3 separate regions of the Homo sapiens genome follow, and all the other regions are linked to region 3. The links are contacts of gene promoters, found by promoter capture Hi-C in human tissues and cell types (Jung and others, 2019). All regions are on one chromosome and are shown on one strand. The core of a region is centred on a gene start or on the middle of the fragment in contact, and the rest is flanking DNA. Distances in the headings are between cores, read along the strand shown.

What was found. The method cuts DNA at HindIII sites, captures the fragments that hold promoters and counts their contacts. A contact is called where the count stands out against the background at its distance.
Region 1: a fragment that was not itself captured here is called in contact with the fragment with the promoter of SCD5 in region 3 in 1 of the 25 tissues and cell types used here (dorsolateral prefrontal cortex).
Region 2: a fragment that was not itself captured here is called in contact with the fragment with the promoter of SCD5 in region 3 in 1 of the 25 tissues and cell types used here (lymphoblastoid cells).

What each region holds. Positions count from the first base shown.
Region 1 is chr4:82,501,954-82,504,653 of GRCh38, reverse strand. It overlaps TMEM150C (transmembrane protein 150C), which reads left to right. Exons shown (of 8, transcript NM_001080506.3): 2 at 1-76; 3 at 1,542-1,595; 4 at 1,727-1,759; 5 at 1,860-1,927. Among named protein-coding and RNA genes, the nearest start is that of TMEM150C, 59 kb to the left of the region's middle. The HindIII fragment of the contact is 8,691 bases long and covers 1-2,700 here.
Region 2 is chr4:83,279,146-83,281,845 of GRCh38, reverse strand. The region is part of intron 1 of COQ2 (coenzyme Q2, polyprenyltransferase); the gene reads left to right. Among named protein-coding and RNA genes, the nearest start is that of COQ2, 4.3 kb to the left of the region's middle. The HindIII fragment of the contact is 3,977 bases long and covers 1-2,700 here.
Region 3 is chr4:82,797,455-82,800,154 of GRCh38, reverse strand. SCD5 (stearoyl-CoA desaturase 5) reads left to right here and starts at 1,359. Exons shown (of 5, transcript NM_001037582.3): 1 at 1,359-1,849. The coding sequence starts at 1,618. RefSeq lists enhancers at 201-917, 918-1,635, 2,612-2,700 and silencers at 1,004-1,423, 1,754-1,803. The HindIII fragment of the contact is 23,697 bases long and covers 1-2,700 here.

The DNA of each region.
Region 1 (2,700 bases), core at 26-2,525, 300 kb after region 3:
ATGGGAAGAAATGCAGCGTATGGATGTTCCTACCTCTTGTATTTACTTTGTTTACTTCAGCTGGATTGTGGATAGTGTGAGTATTTGCTCATTTAATTATTTAAGGATTCAGGTGCAATGTAGATACAAATGTAAACCTTAATAGTATATGGCAGCCGGGCACGGTGGCTCATGCCTGTAATCTCAGCACTTTGGGAGGCCGAGTCAGGCAGATCACTTGAGGTCAGGAGTTTGAGACCCTTGCCAACATGGGGAAACCCTGTCTCTACTAAAAATACAGAAGTTAGCCGGGTGTGATGGCACACGCCTGTAATCCCAGCTACTCGGGGGGCTGAGGCACAAGAATCGCTTGAACCCTGGAGGCAGAGGTTGCATTGAGCTGAGATTGCGCCACTGCACTCCAGACTGGGCAAGAGAGCAAGACTGTCCCCACCCCCCCAAAAAATAGTAGATGGCATATCTTTATGACTGTATTTATAAATACTTGAAAATAATATATTTTACTAATTCAACCTTGCTAAAGTCCTCATTTCTTTTCCCATTTTCTATTAACCAAAGTAAGTAACAAGAGTGAGTAATAATTATGCAAAGCCGGTGGTGAAGAATACTAGTTTATTTTGTGTTCATGTGTTCTTGTTGTAATGAACATTTTGTAAACAGGTTATATGAATTAATTATTTGCAAGATTTTCGAATTTGACACTAACATGCCATGGGTTCCGTCTGCAGTCCAGTTCATAGTCCAGTTATTCATGATTGGGTCTGATATGTTTTTGTTTTTTGTTTTTTGTTTTTGTTTTTTTTTTGAGACGGAGTCTTGCTCTGTTGCCAGGCTGAAGTGCAGTGGCATGATCTTGGCTCACTGCAAGCTCTGCCTCCTGGGTTCACGCCATTCTCCCGCCTCAGCCTCCCAAGTAGATGGGACTACAGGCGCCCACCACCACACCCAGTTAATTTTTTGTATTTTTAGTAGAGTCGGGGTTTCACCATGTTAGCCAGGATGGTCTCGATCTCCTGACCTCGTGATCTGCCCGCCTCGGCCTCCCAAAGTGCTGGGATTACAGGCGTGAGCCACTGCGCCCGGCCTGATATGTTTATAAAATGAATATCATTACATTGGAAGTCCTGGCTTACCACAGAACGTTCCCACACTTGCTTATTTTAGGTAATATTCACTTTAAGAAAATTATTTTAGTTTCTCAAAGTTTGTTAGGAAAGGTAGGACACATATTCCCGAGAAGTTAGAAACTGAACCCTAATTTTAGTTTGCTCAAAGTTGTAAGTTCTATTTCCTTGTTTTCTAGTTTCCAGTTTATAAGCATGGCCATTACTTTGGGGATGTTTTGAAAATTAAGGAAATATTACTAATAATGACATTTGAGCTTCAAAGAACTAGATGATCTATGGGTAAAGAATTGTAAAAGAGCATTTCTCAGTTAGAAAAAATGAATATGAATTAGTGCAGTTAGTTTAATAAAACTGGGAAACAAATGATTCTTTTTTCCAATTTCTTTGTTCTATAAACTTATTCTTTTTTGATAGATACTTCATAGCTGTGGAAGATGACAAAATTTTACCATTAAATTCAGCTGAAAGGTAAAGTTTATCTGTGGGTAATTCGTTGTTCATCAAGAGATTTAGCAAAAACTTTCCCACTGGGAAGGTTAAACTGCACAAATGACAGTGCTTTAACCTGAGCTTCTGTGTTTTTTTTTTTTATTATCCAGGAAACCTGGTGTGAAGCATGCACCATATATAAGGTAACCCAGCAATTCTCTTCTGTCCTGTGGGACCGTAGGAAAAGTTAGGAGGATTATAGATTTTGATATAGTAACTATAAAACATTTCATCTTTTTCAAGCATTGCAGGTGATGATCCTCCTGCAAGCTGTGTGTTTAGTCAAGTTATGAACATGGCAGCCTTCCTAGGTAAGAAGAGGGTAAAGAACGCTTTATGTGCTTTGGTACATTTCTTTTGTATTTTAAATTCTCCCAAACCCTTGTCAAAACAATGGGGGGCTTATTTGATCATTTAGTATCATACGATGTCAATATGCTGAAGCCAGCTCTTTGTCTTAAAGGTCTTTTTCTCTCGTACATCCATTTACGTTCACCCTGCTGTCCTTACATTTTCTCTTCCCTTTACCATCTTTATCATTTCAGATACTCTTGACTTGATCTATTTTGCTGCATAAAATAATATATTTCATGATATAAAATCCTGTATGAGAATGTAATATTGTATAATACATTTGCTTTGAAAAGAATGCTTTATTTATTCCTTCACTAGCAAAGATGAAAAAAATGCATGGGCTTTGTGATATTTGTTGATGTGTGTAGATACTGTCTTTAAACCTAAAGGTCAACATCAGCATTAGGATTACACTCTCTCCTGTGCCTATAGACATAGTAAGCTGGCAAATGGAGAAGTAAGCTTAAAAAGAAGAAACCTTTAGTACTCATATCTAGCCCCAGTTCCTTTTTCTTTGGGGCCCAAGACCCTCCTGTAATATTCTGTCCCTCTGTGAGTGCGTCCATGACCCTGCATAGTCCTCCAGAGATGGTGGGAACCAGCCATGCACTCTATCCTTTTTCTAATCTACCTTGTATACCATCTCCTCAGTGCCAGGCTTTCCCAGTGTCTCTCCAAGAGTCAACTGGCTATCACTGTCAGGATGATGTTAGGATGGACCAAAGACAGC
Region 2 (2,700 bases), core at 201-2,700, 480 kb before region 3:
GGGTTGGAATACCACCTTAGCCTTTTTTTACCTGTGTGGTCTTGGGCACAATTACTCCCTCTCTGCGTCAGTTTCTGTATTTGTAAAATGGTTGTAATAAAAATAGTGCCTATCGAATAGGCTTGTTGTGAGAGTCAAAAGTGTTCTGTGAAACCACCTGGTACAGTAAGTGCCATGTATCTGTTATTACGGTTGTCATAACATCATTAATATTGTCATCTCTTAACGACTCTGTGAGGTAGCTGTTCTCTTCCCTCATTTACAGATGAAACAAAGACTTAAGCCTTAAGATACTTTACTGTCTAGTGTCACTCAACTTACAAGTGGCAGACATAGAACTGAGAAGTCTTCTTACTTTCCCCTTCACTGTAGGAACCCTTGTCATCTGTAGGGGAGCTCTACAGATTCCTATCAGTAAGTGAATACGGTACTTTTAATACAGATTTTTGGCCAAGGAAGTTTTGTTCCTGACAGAAAACACTATAAGTGGTTACACGTCTTTCTGTCTAGAATTTTTTTCTTTTTAGTGGAACCTTCTGTTCTAATTGTACCAGGAAATAATAGCTGTGAAGTGGTATTCTCTCTTCTCTAGCCTAGGAGGATAGGATCAGCTACTCCTCTGTCCCTTGTGAACTATACTCATAGCTCCAGGGTAAAGAAAGTAGTTAAACCTACTGTGTTTTACTTAAACCACTCTGTTTATCTGTTTCCTCATCTGTAAGATAGGGTTATTAACAGTACCTACTATGTAAAGATGTTACTTGGGAGGCTGAGGTGGAAGTATTGCTTGAGCCTGGAAGTCAGAAGCTGTAGTGAACTATGACCTTGTTACTGCACTCCAGCCTCGGCAAGAGAGCGAGACCCTGTCTCTAATGTAAATATATAAATAAATAAGTTTAATATAAAGATGTCATTGAAGATTAAATAAGTTTAGACATATAAAGCATTTAGAACACTGCCTGATGCTTTGTGAGCACTCCGTAAATATTAGCCATTGTTACTGTGGAGTGCACCAAGTATGAGTCTGTCCAGGACAACCTGAATTCAGGTCTGGACTGACCATTTCTCAAGGTTTTAGCTTGAGGCTTCTCCTTGACTTCTCTGTTGTGTAAATTTAGATCCCCTTTGGAAAAGACCCTCTGATTCCTCTCTCCCTCCTCCTAAAACTAGCTAACTAACTTAGATAGTTTTGTTTTATGCCTTTGCAGGACCCTGTGCTTGTCCTGTTGTTGGATTGATCTTTTATTGTTATTGCTTATTTAACTGTATTTCTTTCTTTTGATTTATGAGCTGCATGAAGGCAGAAGCCCCCTTTCTCTTAGCCACCATTGTATTCCCAGTTCTTAGCATAGTTCTGGCACAGAGTATATGCTTCATAAATATGTCTAAATGAATAAAGCTTAAACTTAGTGAAGCTTAAACATGATTACAGGGACTTTAGTCATTTGACCATTTTTCTTCAGGATCTGAACTTTCTTTAGCCCCAAATCCCTTTTCTCTTGTATCCCTCTATAGGGAAAGAAAGCTCAGAATTTATCTAATAGGCAGCATATCCAAACATCAGTTGAAAGACTTTCTTTTAGAAGTAGAATATTAAAGTTCATATTTGAAGTCTTTTATATAATCTATTTGCTTTTATCTTAATTTCCTCTAGTTTATTGGTTAAGTACTAAGAACTAACCCCATTTGTACATGTAGCTGCAAAGTACTCAGTTCAAAATAACAAAAAAACTAACACTTAAAATCCCAGCACTTTGGGAGGCCAAGGTGGGACGATTACTTGAGGCCAAGAGTTTGCAACTAGCCTGGGCAACATAATTCCCTGGGCATGGTGGCTTGCACCTGTAGTTCCAGCTACTGGGGAGGCGGAGGCAGGAGGATCACTTGAGCTCAGGAGTTTGAAGCCACAGTGAGCTACGATTATGCCATTGTACGCCAGCTTGGGTGACAGAGTGAGATGCTGTCTCAAAAAAAAAAAAAAAAAAGACTAGACCGTCTAAGTGTATTGTACTAACAATGGTAAAGGAAATTTTGCTAACTTTTTTGAGTAGGTAATGTGTGTATATGATACAATATTCAGAAGGTGCCAGGGTATAGAGTGAAAGGCAAGTCTCTTACTCCTGTCTCCTGTCCATGCAGTTCCCCTACTCAGAAGCAACCATTATTATATGTTTCTAGTGTGTTCTTCCTGACAGTCTTTGAGCATATTAACATTGACGCATGAATGTTTTATATGTAGGTACGTATATATATATATATTTATATACACATATAAACACACAATAAACAATTTTTAAGTTGTCCTTCACAAAGGTAGGGCCATTTTGTAACCTCATTAGAAATACATAAGAGTATTCAACTCCCTAGAGTGTGTTGTCAGATGTAGGGTTTTGCCAGTGATAGGTGAAAATTTTTATCTCAATTTAGTTTTCATATGTGTTTCTCAAAGTTGAGTATCTTTTCATATGTATAAGAGCCATTTGTATTTCTTTTTATGTGAATTTTTATTATGTTTTGTCTTTTTTAATTGGACTGTTGATCTCTTTCTTCTAGGCACTCTGCGTAGTAAGGGGTCCTTTGTGATTTGAGTTGCAAATTTATTTTCTCAGTTTTGTCATTTGTTTTTTTGACTTATAGTGTTCTTTATTTCTTTGGTATGTGATGTTTAAACAAATGAAAACAGTTAACTGACTTAAATTT
Region 3 (2,700 bases), core at 110-2,609:
TGGCCTAGATTCCACAAGTGCCACATACCTTGCTTTAGCTTAAATCAGGCATTGTTTTGTCTGGCTGCTAGGACTGGCTCAGGTCTGCTAACAATAAGATGCTTATGCATGGCCCTTTCATGCAGTCAGTCTTTTAAATTTTTTTGCCTCTCTTGAAATCCTGGAAATGATTCCTAACAACGGTTAATCTAAAAATCAGCTGGTTTTGGTCAATATAATGGCGCCCCTTCGAACTCACATTCATGGAATATGGAAGCTGGAAGGAAGAGTAGAAACTAGTTCTGCTTCTCAGGTAAGGAAATCCGTGCCCAGAGAGTTGGGCTGGGTTCCAGCCAGTTAAAACTAGAACTCAGAGATGCTGTCCCGAGCCCTTTTACTTCTGCTGCCTGCCCGCAATTGCGGTCACACCTGCTTCAGACACTTCCAGCTCAATCCTCCCTCCATTTTCTGTGCAACTAGGGTCCTCTCTGGAGAGCTCTTAAGCCATCAGCTCTAGGAGAGAAGTGGGCAGACACAAATCTTTCACAGGTTAATTTTCCTTGGAACATTCTGGGTGATTTTTTTGTAAAGCCCGATTCTCAATGGTGTTGATTTCAGGGTAGTGTTCCTCACTGAGAGCTAAGGAGGCGTTGCAGAAGTGCGCTGATTAGCTAGAATTGACCATAAACAGAGTGGCGCGGCGGATGGGCAAAGGGTGGGCAGCGAACTGGCCCAAATCATCTGTGCATCACCTCACAAGCACCAACTGAGCACTTACTGTGTGCCTGGGTAATCCACAGCTGCCTAATTAAGAACGAGCAGCTGCCTTCCAACCCTCCCCTGGCCCGAGGAGCCCTACTAACTGGCAGATTGAGGGACTTCTGATTCTCATCGTGGGTCTGGCCTTAACTAGGGTCGCGACTCCAAGCAAGTATTTAAAATTCTCCAACCCAGGTGGCCTGAGGCTTGAGAAGAAATAAAAGGCTTCTCAAAGGGATGACAGTTTCGGGAAGTTTTTTTTTGGGGGGGGGACTGGAAAAATACCATAAAAGGCATTTTGGGGGTCACACACACACAAGAGCAGAAGCGCTGTGAGCCGCCCTGCAGGCTCCCTGCCCCGGGAGCCACCTTCCACCCGCCCCCGGGCGGAGGCGGCCAACTCCCGCCCAGCGGGCTCCCCAGTTCGGCCCCGAAAAGCCGAAAGGGGGGCGCCTTTGTCTATAAGCGCCGCACGGGCGCTCCTGATTGGCTGTAGCTAAGCAGGGCTTTCTTCCGCGCTCCTTCGGAGCGCTCCCTCCAGCGTCGCCGGCCCCGTTCCATTTTCACAGCTCCTCCTCCCCGGCCGCGCGCCCCTCCCGCCCCGCGCGCGCCTCCTCTTTCTCGCGGCCGAGTTCAGCCCGGGCAGCCATATGGGGGATACGCCAGCAACAGACGCCGGCCGCCAAGATCTGCATCCCTAGGCCACGCTAAGACCCTGGGGAAGAGCGCAGGAGCCCGGGAGAAGGGCTGGAAGGAGGGGACTGGACGTGCGGAGAATTCCCCCCTAAAAGGCAGAAGCCCCCGCCCCCACCCTCGAGCTCCGCTCGGGCAGAGCGCCTGCCTGCCTGCCGCTGCTGCGGGCGCCCACCTCGCCCAGCCATGCCAGGCCCGGCCACCGACGCGGGGAAGATCCCTTTCTGCGACGCCAAGGAAGAAATCCGTGCCGGGCTCGAAAGCTCTGAGGGCGGCGGCGGCCCGGAGAGGCCAGGCGCGCGCGGGCAGCGGCAGAACATCGTCTGGAGGAATGTCGTCCTGATGAGCTTGCTCCACTTGGGGGCCGTGTACTCCCTGGTGCTCATCCCCAAAGCCAAGCCACTCACTCTGCTCTGGGGTAAGTCCCGCCGGCGCCCCCTGCGCCCCGGCCTCCGTGGCCAGGCCGCGCTGGGGCGCGCGAGGTCGCCGCTCGCCCCTCGGCTGCGGGCGGTGCGCAGCGACCCCCGGTCTCCCCTCGCCTCCCGCTGCGCGCCGCGGCCCCCTTGGCATCCAGTTTTCCGTCCCTTGGGACGGGCAGGTGTTTCTGTCCCAGTATTTCAACTTCCGCCCCCCCCCCGCCCCCACCCCGCCGCGGTCTGCCTGAGGAAGCGCATTTGCCGGCTTCCCGATGGAGAGCCGGGGGGGACCCGGAGTCCTGCGGTGCCACCGCTGTGCGCAGAGGCGCGCGAAGGGAGAGGCTCGGCACAGGCTGAATCGGCTCCCAGCGAGGGAGGACGGGCGGGCGATTGTGTCACCTCTGCGGTCCCTGGGGCTCTCCTATCCCCCCCATCACCTCCGCGGGTCACGGACCTTGGGGACAGAGATGAGGACAAGTAAGGGAGTTGGACCGGGGAGGAGAGACCCGGCACAGGATAGAGTCTTGGTTTACGCGCACCAGATGGAAGATACCGGTTCCCCTCTTGCCTCTCCAAGGCCCCTGTCCCTGCCCCCTCCGCAATCTTCTATGCCCATTTGCAGTTCTCGGTGAAGTTTCTCGGTGAGCAAACCGATCCCATGGCGAGAGCGGTCTGACCCTAGCACGAAGCTCCGACTGTGGCTGTGCAGAGCCTTCTCCAAACCCTGTTCCCATGTGGCCAGTGGGAACCTGTGGCTCTCCTGGTACCCTCCTTCCGTGCACCCCCACTCCTGCCAGTAGGGAAGGGAGCCCGGGCGCCGACCACCATTCCCCTTCCCCTGGGCCCCAGGGAC